Regions from separate parts of the Homo sapiens genome. Here regions 1 and 3 are each linked to region 2. Evidence: promoter capture Hi-C in 16 types of primary human blood cells and fetal thymus (Javierre and others, 2016). All regions are on one chromosome and are shown on one strand. Each heading gives the region's core, a stretch centred on a gene start or on the middle of the fragment in contact. The rest is flanking DNA. Distances are from core to core; before and after follow the strand shown.

Region 1 (3,551 bases), core at 828-3,327, 1.1 Mb after region 2:
GTACAGTATCAAAACGAAGAAATGGAACATCGGCACAATCCATTGAGTTTATTCAGATCTAACCAGTTATGCACGCACCCATTTGTGTGTGTGTTTGTGTGTGCCTGTAGGAAATGGGAAATCATGTATATAGTGAGAAAAATAGAGTTGGCCTTTGTCCCTGGTTCTTGGCACAGATCTTTTAAAACCCTCCTAAAATTTCCTGAGTTACAGTGATGTTTTGTTATTCATAACAAACCCCTTTCAACCATACCTGAGCTTATGTTAATGAGGACCCTAAATAGTTTCTGGATACAGGCTGCTGATCAGAAAGACTAAGCCATGATTGATGATGAGAGAGTTGGAACTTTCAGCCTCACTCTCTGACCTCCAGGGAGTGGACAGTGGCTAGGGATGGAGTTCAGTCACCAATGACCAATGATTTCATCAATCATGCCTCTGTAATGGAACCTTCATAAAGTTCCAAAACAATGGAGTTTGGAGAGCTTCTGGGTTGGAACACATGGAGATGCTGGAGGGGTGACGCCCAGAGCAGGCAGGGAGGCTCTGCACACCCACCCTACAATACCCAGTCCTATGCATCTCTTCACTTGGCTGTTCCTGAGTTGTATCTTTTACAATAGACCAGTAATGGTGAAGTAATGTGTTTTTTTGAGTTCTGTGAGCCATTCTAGCAAATTATCAAACCTGAGGAATGGAGGTCACGGGAACCTCCAAATTTGTAGTTGGCTGGACAGAAGTGTGGGTAACCTGGGGACCCAGTACTTGTGACTGGCATGTGAAATGGGGGTAGTTTTGTTTTGTTTTGTTTTGTTTTTTTGGAGACATCGAGTCTCACTCTGTCACCCAGGCTGGAGTGCAGTGGCACGATCTCGGCTCACACAACCTCCGCCTCTGGGTTCAAGCAATTATCCTGTCTCAGCCCCCCAAGTAGCTGGGATTACAGGCACTCGCCACCACTCCTGGCTAATTTTTGTACTTTTAGTAGAGATGAGGTTTCACCATGTTGGCCAGGCTGGACTCGAACTCCTGACCTCAGGTGATCCGCCTGCCTCGGCTTCCCAAAGTTCTGGGATTACAGGCATGAGCCACCACACCCAGCCATTTTTTTTTTTTTTGAGATGGAGTTTCACTCTTGTTGCCCAGGCTGGAGTGCAATGGCGTGACCTCAGCTCACTGCAACCTCCACCTCCTGGGTTCAAGCAATTCTTCTGCCTCAGCCTCCCGAGTAGCTGGGATTACAGGTGCCCGCCACCAGGCCTGGCTAATTTTTGTATTTTTAGTAGAGACAGGGTTTCACCATGTTGGCCAGGCTGGTCTCGAACTCCTGACCTCAGGTGATCCGCCCGCCTCAGCCTCCCAAAGTGCTGGGATTACAGGTGTGAGCCACTGCGCCTGGGAGAAATGGGGGTAGTCTTATGGGACTGAGCCCTTCAGCCTGTGGAGTCTGACACTAACTCCAGGTTAGTATCAGAATAGAATTGAATTATTGAACACCCAATTGGTATCACAGAAGCAGAAAATCGATTGGTGTTGGAAATGATACCACTTATTTGGTATCAGCACAAAGACCACAAAAAAGCTTTTTTTTTTTTTTTTTTTTGAGACAGAGTCTCACTCTGTTTTCAGGCTGAAGTGCAGTGGCACAATCTTGGCTCACTGCAACCTCCTCCTCCCGGGTTAAAGCAATTCTTCTGCCTCAGCCTCCTGAGTAGCTGGGATTACAGGCACACACTGCCACACCCGGCTAATTTTTGTATTTTTAGTAGAGACGGGGTTTCACCGTGTTGGCCAGGTTGGTCTCGACCTCCTGACCTCGTCATCCCCCCACCTCAGCCTCCCAAAGTGCTGGAATTACAGATGTGAGCCGTCGCACCCAGCCAACCACAAAGTAGCTCTATGTAAATTTGCCCTATGTGTAGCCTGGAGTAGCCACCAGAATGACCGAGGTGCTCAACTGTACCATCACCACAAAGCCTCTCGTGTAACCCCTTTACAGCCACACCCTCCCCTCCCTTCTGATATGGTACTGATCTGGGTCCCCACCAAACCGGGTGGAGTTCTCATGAATGGATTAGCACCATGAGATCTAGTTGTTCAAAAGTGTGTAGCACCTCCCATCTCTTTTCCTCCTGCTCTGGCCATGTAAGTGGTGCCTGCCTCCTCCTTTGCCCTCCCCATGGTTGTAAGTTCCCTGAGGCCTCCCCAGAAGCTGAAGCCACCACGCTTCCTGTACAGACTGCAGAACCATGAGCCAATTAAACCTTTTGTCTTTATAAATTACCCAGTCTCAGGTATTTCTTTATAGAAAGAGGAGAACGGACTAATACACATTCCTAACTCCTGACAACCACTAGTCTATTCCCTCTCTAATTATATTATTTGCCGTGTAAATAGAATCATGCAGTGATGTATCCTTTTGAGGCTGGCTTTTTCACTCAGCAAAAGTTCATCCAAGTTGTTGCTTGTACCAATAGTTCATTCCTTCTACAGCAGAATAGTATCCTGTGGTATGAATATACCATAGTTTGTGAGTATTTTCTGGTTTAGGGCTATTATAAATAAAGCTTCTATGAACATTTGTGTACAAGTTCCACCATGAAAATAAGTTTTCATTTCTCTGGGAAAAATGCATGACAGTGCAATTGCCGGGTTTTATGATAAGTCCATTTTTATTTTTGAAAGGAACTGGTTATATTTTGAACATGGGGCCAACAGGATTATCTGACAAATTGAACGTGGGTTTGAGAGAAAAGAGGAGTCAGGGATGGTTCTAAATGAAAGCATGCTGGAACACAGTAAGGGCTTGGTAAATGTCAGCTGCACAAGTGGTAGCAAATACAGCTGCAATCATGAAAGAAATGAGAAAAACCACGAGGCACTGTAAGCCATGAGACATTGCCCTAGAAGGCATTTAGAGTCACTCATTTGCATATGTTAAAAGTGAAAGAGAAGAGTGTTTTATTTCCTCTTAGGATATAGAAAAACCACAAGGGAACATCATTCCCATTCTTTTCTGGGGGGGCTCCAGTGATCATCCCACCTCAGCCTCCTGAGTAGCTGGGACTACAGGCTCCTGTCGCCATGTCTGGCTAATTTTTTTTTTTTTTTTTTTTTTTTTTTTGTAGAGACAGGGTTTCCCCATGTTGCTCAGGCTGGCTGGTCTTGAACTCCAGGGCTCAAAGGGTCCACCCACCTCACCCCCGAAAGTGCTGGGAGTACAGGAATGAACCACCCCGCCCCCCGACTCTAACAATAACAAAACACCAGATAATTTGCAAAACCATAATTTCTTAAACCAGTCAGATAGCTGAGGTGGCAGGCAACCAAGAGAACTGAATTCCAAAGAGTGACAAGCCCCTCCAAGGAAAGGCAAGACCAACTGTCTTGGGCAGAGCATGTGGTGGGCAGGAGGGAGTCTGCCCTGCCTTCTGAGCTTTTTGCACAGGCCTTCACTGCAGGAAAAAGACTGGAGGCAGAGGGGGAGCCGGGAGAGACCCCTCCCCCTTGCTGGTGGCACAAGCACTCAAGCGGTGATTGACTGCTGTGCA
Region 2 (3,650 bases), core at 92-2,591:
AGTACCACAAAAAAAAAAAAGTGTGTAGCTATTTACATAGCATTTACACTGTATCAGGTTTTATAAGTAATCTAGAGATTATTTAAATTATATGGAGGGCGTGGTGGCACGTGCCTGCAGTCCCAGCTACCTGGGAGGCTGAGGTGGGAGGATTATCTGAGCCCAGGGAGTTCGAAGATGCAGTGAGCTATGATTGCACCACTACACTCCAGCCTGGGAGACAAGAGTGAGACCCTGACTCAAAAAAAAAAAAAGAAAAGAAAAAAGAGTATACAGGAGGGTGATGTGGTGGCTCACACCTGTAATCCCAGCATTTTGAGAGGCCAAGGAAGGAGGATAGCTTGAGCCAGGAGTTTGAGACCAGCCTGGGCAACATGGTGAGACCCTGTCTCTACAAAAATGAAATAAAATAAAAATTAGCCGGGTATGGTTGTTTATGCCTGTGGTTCCAGCTACACAGGAGGCTGAGGCAGGAGGATCCCTTGAGCCCAGGAGGTCGAGGCTGCAGTGAGCCATGTTCCTGCCACTGCACTCCAGCCTGGGTCACAGAATGAGACCTTGTCTCAAAAAAAAAAAGTATACAGCAATCCCCTGCGGATACTGAGGGATAAATGTATCTAACACACACACTCACACACGTGGGCTACTAGAAAGGCAGTGACTGCGAATTGCTACTTCCCAGCCACTGTGAGAGATGTGGAAACCCCTGCTCCAGGACAACCACCACTTCCCCAACTTGGCAACCTCTCCTGCTCACCATCTAGCACCTGCTTCCAAATACTTCAAGGACAGCAGGAAGTTCTTTTCTGACAAGATTTGGCCTAATTTTTAAATAGCACTCAGCACTTTTTGGCAGGCCTAGGGCTACTTCCAACATCCCATGGCTTTCCTTTTTTAATTTTACCAACTTTTTAAATACACTTTGTACTTTGGGCAGCCCGGGTAAGCGTTCAGTGTGAGGAGCTGACACGGCCATCATTTAAACTAGATTAAACGACACTGGACAAATAATCGCAGAGCAGCACAAAGTCGGGCTGGACGGGTACAGATGCAAACCCTCCACTCAGGGCTCGGGGGTCCCTCCTGCTCCAGGCGGCCCCACCCGTACAGCCGGGAAAGTGAGGTCGCACAGATGGACGGCCGCCTACCCACGCACAGTCGCAAACAGAGCTTCATGGGCACACAGGGGAAAATAAGGACACACACAGACAGCCGTGGACCCACGCTCGCGGACACAGCTCCCCGAACCTCCCCTCCCGCGCCGCCGCGAGAACCCAGCTTCCCAGCCCCCTTCCACTGCTCACCCGCGCCAGGCGCGTCTCGGGGCCGCTCCCAAATATCGCGGTATCTCTGCCGCTCTCCCGCGGAATCTGACTGGCACGCCTCACGAGAGCACCGGGCTGGCTGTATGTCGCGCAGCCTTCTGGGAGCTGTAGTCCACTTCTCTGCCTTCCGGGAGTTGTAGTCCACTGGGGAAATCCTGGAGCAAACCCTGGCCCTGTTCTTTGTATTGCTGGGACTCTCGATAGGGGCTGGCATAACTGTCCGACCTCCTTTCCTCACTCCTATCAGCCCCACACACACTGCTTGTTGCTTGGGGCCTTTTTTTTTTTTTTTTTTTTTTTGCTGTTGTCCCAGGTTTATTGAAAATATTACAGTATCTCAAAAAGATTCAAACAGCTTCCACGTGGCGTTTTGAAATTCATCCCCACTGTTGGCTGAGTGACCTGCAGGTTGGACAGACTGCCAAAGTCCAAAAACATCAGCATTTCCTTAATGTCAGGATATGTTAATACTTCAATGATTTCCTGATCCAGGGCTGAGACCTCAGGAACATGATTATCTCTCCTTTCTCTCTTCTCCTCCTGCAACTTGATGCAGATACCTCTCACTGAGCGCTTCAAATCAGCTTCATCACATGCATGTTGTAGCCTGCTATCTTGTTGGGGAGCTGTTTTTTTTTTTGTTTTTTTTTTTTTTTTTGAGACAGGGTCTGGCTCTGTCACCCAGACTGGAGTGCGCAGTGGTGCTATCTCCACTCACTGCAACCTCCACCTTTTGGGCTTAAGCCATCCTCCTATCTCAGCCTATGGAGTAGCCAGGACTACAGGAGTGCACCATCATGCCAGACTAATGTTTGTATTTTTTGTAGAGACGGGTTCTCACTCTATTGCCCAGGCTGGTCTCAAACTCCTAGGCTCAAACAATCCGCCCACCTTGGCCTCCCAAAGTGCTGGGACTACAGGAGTGAGCCACCACGCTCGGCCCTGGGGAGCATTTTGCTGGAAATAATGGTGATCTCCTTGCACATGTGTTGTTTGTGTGGAAGTTGCTGCCCGGGTGTGTGTATTACTTTTTTATGACGAAGTATAGAAAAGGGCTATCTTCATGGTATTAGTGTGAATGGGGCCCATGTTGGCAGGTCCTTAGTAAAAGAGGGCTCGTGGCACTTAATATTTACCAAGCCTCTTCTATTTTAGGTGCACAGGATACAGAGATAAATCAGATGCGTCCCTGTTCTTGAGACAAACAGGGACACAGAAAATGACAGGGTAAGATCCTCCATGAGGAAGCAACACCTCTAGGCAGGAAAGCCTTCTTGAAGGAGTGACTTGAAATGAATCTTGAAGGACAGCCAGGAGGTTAGATAGAGGATCCCAATAGCGATCCAGGTGGAAGGCATCAAATGGGCAAAGGGAAGGCGGCAGAAGAACACACACTGGCATGCTTCCCTGCCCCCTTCATTTTCTAGCCTTCACAGGCCCCAGGAACCTCTGTATTCATTGAGGTGGCTGAACCAGCTGCGGGTCCCCTGCCCTGAGCTGAGGTGGGGCCTCTGCTCTACCCCCGCCCTTAGCCGCAGTGGACCATCTGGGCCAAACCATCCCTTACGCAGGGATCCAGCCGTGTCTTTTTTTTTTGAGATGGAGTCTTGCTGTGTCGCCCAGGCTGGAGTGCAGTGGTGCGATCTCGGCTCACTGCAAGCTCCGCCTCCTGTGTTCACGCCATTCTCCCGCCTCAGCCTCCCGAGTAGCTGGGACTACAGGTGCCTGCCACCTCGCCCGCCTAATTTTTTGTATTTTTAGTAGAGATGGGGTTTCACCGTGTTAGCCAGGATGGTCTCGATCTCCTGACCTCGTGATCCACCCGCCTCAGCCTCCCAAAGTGCTAGGATTACAGGTGTGAGCCACCACGCCCGGCCGATCCAGCCTGCTTCTTCTACTTCCTCCTCCCAAGGCAGGGGGCCTAGGTGGCAATTTCATCACCTACTGAAGGCTGCCTCAGAGAAGGAGCCACACAGGGTCGTATAGCTCTAGGTCTCGGGGAATGACAGACCACAGATCCACCCACCCCCCATACTTTCATGCCCCTGCCCCACAGCCCGCTGTGAGGCTCCACGCAAGTCCACAGGAAGACACATGACACAGCAGAACACACAGGGCCAAATGTTCCCCTTTATTATGGTTCACTCAGTTACCAAAGACAGACACATTGGCTCAGGCAGCTCAACTGCCAGCTGGGGAACATCCAGCTCCAGAAACAGGGAGCAGCAGCGGCACCAGGAGAATGGCAAAGCAGGTCACTGGGACCCCAGAACTGACCTGGGCCCTCCTTCACCCGACCCCAGGCCAGACCTTCCTACAAAGATG
Region 3 (3,496 bases), core at 564-3,063, 1.0 Mb after region 2:
GTTGCTGAAGGATTTGGAACCAGGGAACAACACGATCAGCTGTGCATGATGGGACAGTCACTCTGACAACCTAGGAGCAGGTGCCCTGGTCTAGGACAGTGGCTGTGGGATGCAGAGGAGGGACTTGATTCAGAGATCCTGGGAAGCCAGTGACTGGAGGTGAGGGAGCAGGATGATGCCTTGAGTGACAGCTGGAAAGGCTGGTGGATCTGAGGTGGTGGGGGCAGGAGGGAGGGGGAGAGCTGGAGAGCGGGTATGAAGAGGGTGAGGGGAGAGCCAGCTAGGTCTTCGCCAATGGAAAAGCATGTCAGACTCCCAGCTGGTAAGGGGAAAGGGGCACAGTTCCAGGTGACCTCACTGGGTCAGCGCCCCGGCTTCAAACTTAAACCATCGCAACCACTGTGCTGGCTCCTGTGTACCCATTCCGTACTCTGTTCCAACTTAGAAACAGACTAGAAAGGATGATGATAGGGCCTGGCTCTTGTAAACCTTACAGTCTGCAGGGTGGAGAGCAGGGGTTGGGCAGATACGCAACTTCCTAGGGACTGTAAGGCCTCAGGAGCCTGCCCTTCCCTCCAGCCTGGTCAGTACTCCCAGGCCTTTAGAGAATCAGTCCATGAAAGCCAAATATGGTGGGCAGCCATCTGCACAAGGGACCTGGAAGTGGGCTATGGCAGGATGGGGCTTCGGAGGCCAGAGGCGATTGGCTGAGGAGGCAGAGCTGGGGAAGCTTTATTCATTTCTTTGCTTGCTTTGGAAGATAGCCTGCTCCCAGACTACCCCAAAGTCCTGTTGGAAGTTAACACTTCTCAAAGGAAATTCACGAGTTGCATTCAGGTTTTCTCAAGCCCTGGAGAGGCAAGTTAATTCCAGGTACCTGGATCAAGGGGCATGCTCTTTCTGGACCTGCAGGACTGAGGGCCTCACCTCTGTGGTGCTCTGGGGCCCCTGCCCTCATGTAGCTCTGTGCTATCCCCTTCTTCCTTACACTCCCATGCTCCCCGAAGTCTGCATGTGAAACTTCTTTCTTTTTGTGCCAAAGTTCAGGCCTTCCTACTCCACCTTGATCACGGTGACCTGGCCAGGCCATTACTTAACAAATAAGTATTGAGACCTGCCCTATGCCAGTCCCTGCTTGCTGGGCTGTGGGTTCACAAAGAGGAATAATTTGCAGACTATGTCCCAGAGAAACCCAAAGTCCAGATATGGCATGTCCTGCCTCCAGTGTGAGAGAAGGAGTGCTGAGAAGGCTGATATAGCATGTCCTTGATCCTGGAGAAGATTGGCTTCCTGTAAACCCTGATGAGATCTTGCTCTCTCGCTCCGACTGCAGTGCAGTGGCACGATCATAGCTCACTGCAGCCTCAAACTCCTGGACTCAAGAGATCCTCCCGCCTCAGCCTCCCAAGTGGCTGGGACCACAGGCAGGCATCCCACGCCAGGCTAATTTTTAAAAATTTTTTGTAGAGATGGGCTCTCACTATGTTGCTCAGGATGGTCCTGAATTCCTGGCCTCAAGCGATCCTCCTGCCTGAGTCTCCCAAATTGATGGATTATAGGAGTGAGCCACCGTGCCCAGCTTCCCCTCCAGCTTTTCTAGGGCTGAGTAGGAGAAGAGGGGAGGAGGCGATGACCCCAGCGGGGTCCGAGGAACGCCGATCACACCCAGTAGCCCTGGGCTGCAGTTCGGTCCTCCCAGCGCAGGGGGAGCCATGCGACGGCGGAAGCGGGCCCCGGCCGGCCTCCTCTTCCTGCGCCCGCGCCGCCGCGGGTGGCCGCGCGGGTGAAGCCGGAAGCAGCAGCCAGGAGGGCGGGGCCGCGTAGGGCCCACTGGCCAGGGAGGGCGCCGCGCGGAGGCGCGGGGCGTGTCTCCTGTCAAAAGCCATGCTCGGCAGGTCTGGGTACCGGGCGCTGCCCCTGGGTGATTTTGACCGCTTCCAGCAGTCGAGCTTCGGCTTTCTGGGCTCGCAGAAGGGCTGCTTGTCCCCGGAGCGGGGCGGCGTGGGGACAGGGGCCGGTGAGTGGCCGCCTGGCACGGCGGAGCCGGGGGGGACCGGCCGGCAACCCCCAGGCCCGAATCTCTGCCTCCGAGGAGTCGGCCGGCCCGGTGCCGTCGCACCCTACGAGGGGGGACTGAGAAAGGGATACGATGTGGAGAGGGGGCTGGACCCGGCGCCTGGTGCTAGCGCCGATCCGCCCTCCCTAGGGTCATGGGGCTTTGGCCCCAGAGCCAGCCAGCGTTGCTCCTATCTTCCAAAACCTCACCTCACCACATTTGTCCTCGGCTCTTATCAGCCCTTTAGGCCTGGGAAGACGTTTCAGGTTTCTATTTCGCATAGAAGAAACCGAGGTCTAGGCAGAGGAGGCCACCAGCACCCTAAAGGCACCTGCTGCAGGGAAATGGAAGAATTTTCGCCCTAGGGGGCACCTCTAGAAGCCCGGGAACTAGGCATCTCCTGGATGTGCAGGCCAAAATGACAGGTCCTCAGCTGCCTGTTGGATCTGCCCTGCTTCTGTCTTGCCCTCAAAGTCTTCTGTGGCTCCTTTGGCCTACAGGCCAGATCCCACGCTGTTCAGCCTAACCGCCTAACCTTGGATTTGATCCCTCCCTGGCCTTCCTGTCCTGAAAGCTCTCCCTATCCAGAAGTCTCTTGAGAGGCCTGGTGGATCAGAGCCAGGCACAAAGTGGAGCCTCAGTGCTCTGGGGCTTAGCCCAGAGGGCAGGGCTTCCTGGAAGAATGGAGCAGGGCTCCCGACTGCTTCCTGTCCAGGGTTGGGAGGAAAGCGGCAAATAACCTCATCCCAGATTCTGGAGCTGTCTCGGCTTTGCTCCCAACTTGGGCTCCTGAATCTCCAGGGGCCAGGACATTTGGCTTGGATAAGCCTCATCTTTCTAGCCCTGCCCCTGACCCCGACCCCTAACAATTTTCTTGAATTGAAATAGGCAGGGTTTTTTTTTGTTTTTGTTTTTTGTTGTTTGTTGTTTTTTTGAGATGGAGTCTCGCTCTGTCCCCCAGGCTGGAGTGCAGTGGCGCCATCTCGTGAAATAGGCATTTTTTAATGGTCATTAAGGCATTAAAGTTGGGTGTGGAATAGAAAATAATAATCTAATTCCTCATCTGTGGCTCCCGTTGATAAGCTATTTATGATTTATCCCTGTAGGCTAAGGCATCATCTTCATAAGGACTCCTGGAAAGCACACTTCTGGGGCTGATGGTATAGGAGGAATGTGTTTTGCCAGCAGTATTCAGTGCATGTTTACAGATGCCCAGGTGCTCCTGGCTCCATGCCAGGTATGGGTAGGCAATATAAATTAAACGAGAGGATTGACCCCTACTCAGTCCAGTGAGGAGAGCATCATCACGCGGACTGGATTCTGAGATTGAATGGCTGTTGCCTAGCAGAGAATAAGGCCTTGTGAGGGTTGTTGGACTTGGGACAAATGAGTGTTGATGTATGGGAGGAGGGAACAGACCCTAACTTGCAGCTGCCCAAA

The links. The method cuts DNA at HindIII sites, captures the fragments that hold promoters and counts their contacts. A CHiCAGO score of 5 or more calls a contact.
Region 1: a fragment that was not itself captured here is called in contact with the fragment with the promoter of PPCDC in region 2 in 1 of 17 cell types (total CD4 T cells); the score reaches 5.1 in total CD4 T cells.
Region 3: the fragment with the promoter of STOML1 here is called in contact with the fragment with the promoter of PPCDC in region 2 in 1 of 17 cell types (total CD4 T cells); the score reaches 6.1 in total CD4 T cells.

The regions. Positions count from the first base shown.
Region 1 is chr15:73,965,304-73,968,854 of GRCh38, reverse strand. No RefSeq gene overlaps it. Among named protein-coding and RNA genes, the nearest start is that of STOML1, 25 kb to the left of the region's middle. RefSeq lists a silencer at 2,780-2,929. The HindIII fragment of the contact is 985 bases long and covers 1,585-2,569 here.
Region 2 is chr15:75,021,281-75,024,930 of GRCh38, reverse strand. It overlaps PPCDC (phosphopantothenoylcysteine decarboxylase), which reads right to left and starts at 1,341. Exons shown (of 6, transcript NM_021823.5): 1 at 1,305-1,341. SCAMP5 (secretory carrier membrane protein 5) reads right to left here. Exons shown (of 7, transcript NM_138967.4): 7 at 3,436-3,650. The HindIII fragment of the contact is 7,713 bases long and covers 1-3,650 here.
Region 3 is chr15:73,990,612-73,994,107 of GRCh38, reverse strand. It overlaps STOML1 (stomatin like 1), which reads left to right and starts at 1,813. Exons shown (of 7, transcript NM_004809.5): 1 at 1,813-2,017. The coding sequence starts at 1,885. RefSeq lists a silencer at 1,587-2,146 and enhancers at 2,277-2,346, 2,407-2,536. The HindIII fragment of the contact is 7,004 bases long and covers 733-3,496 here.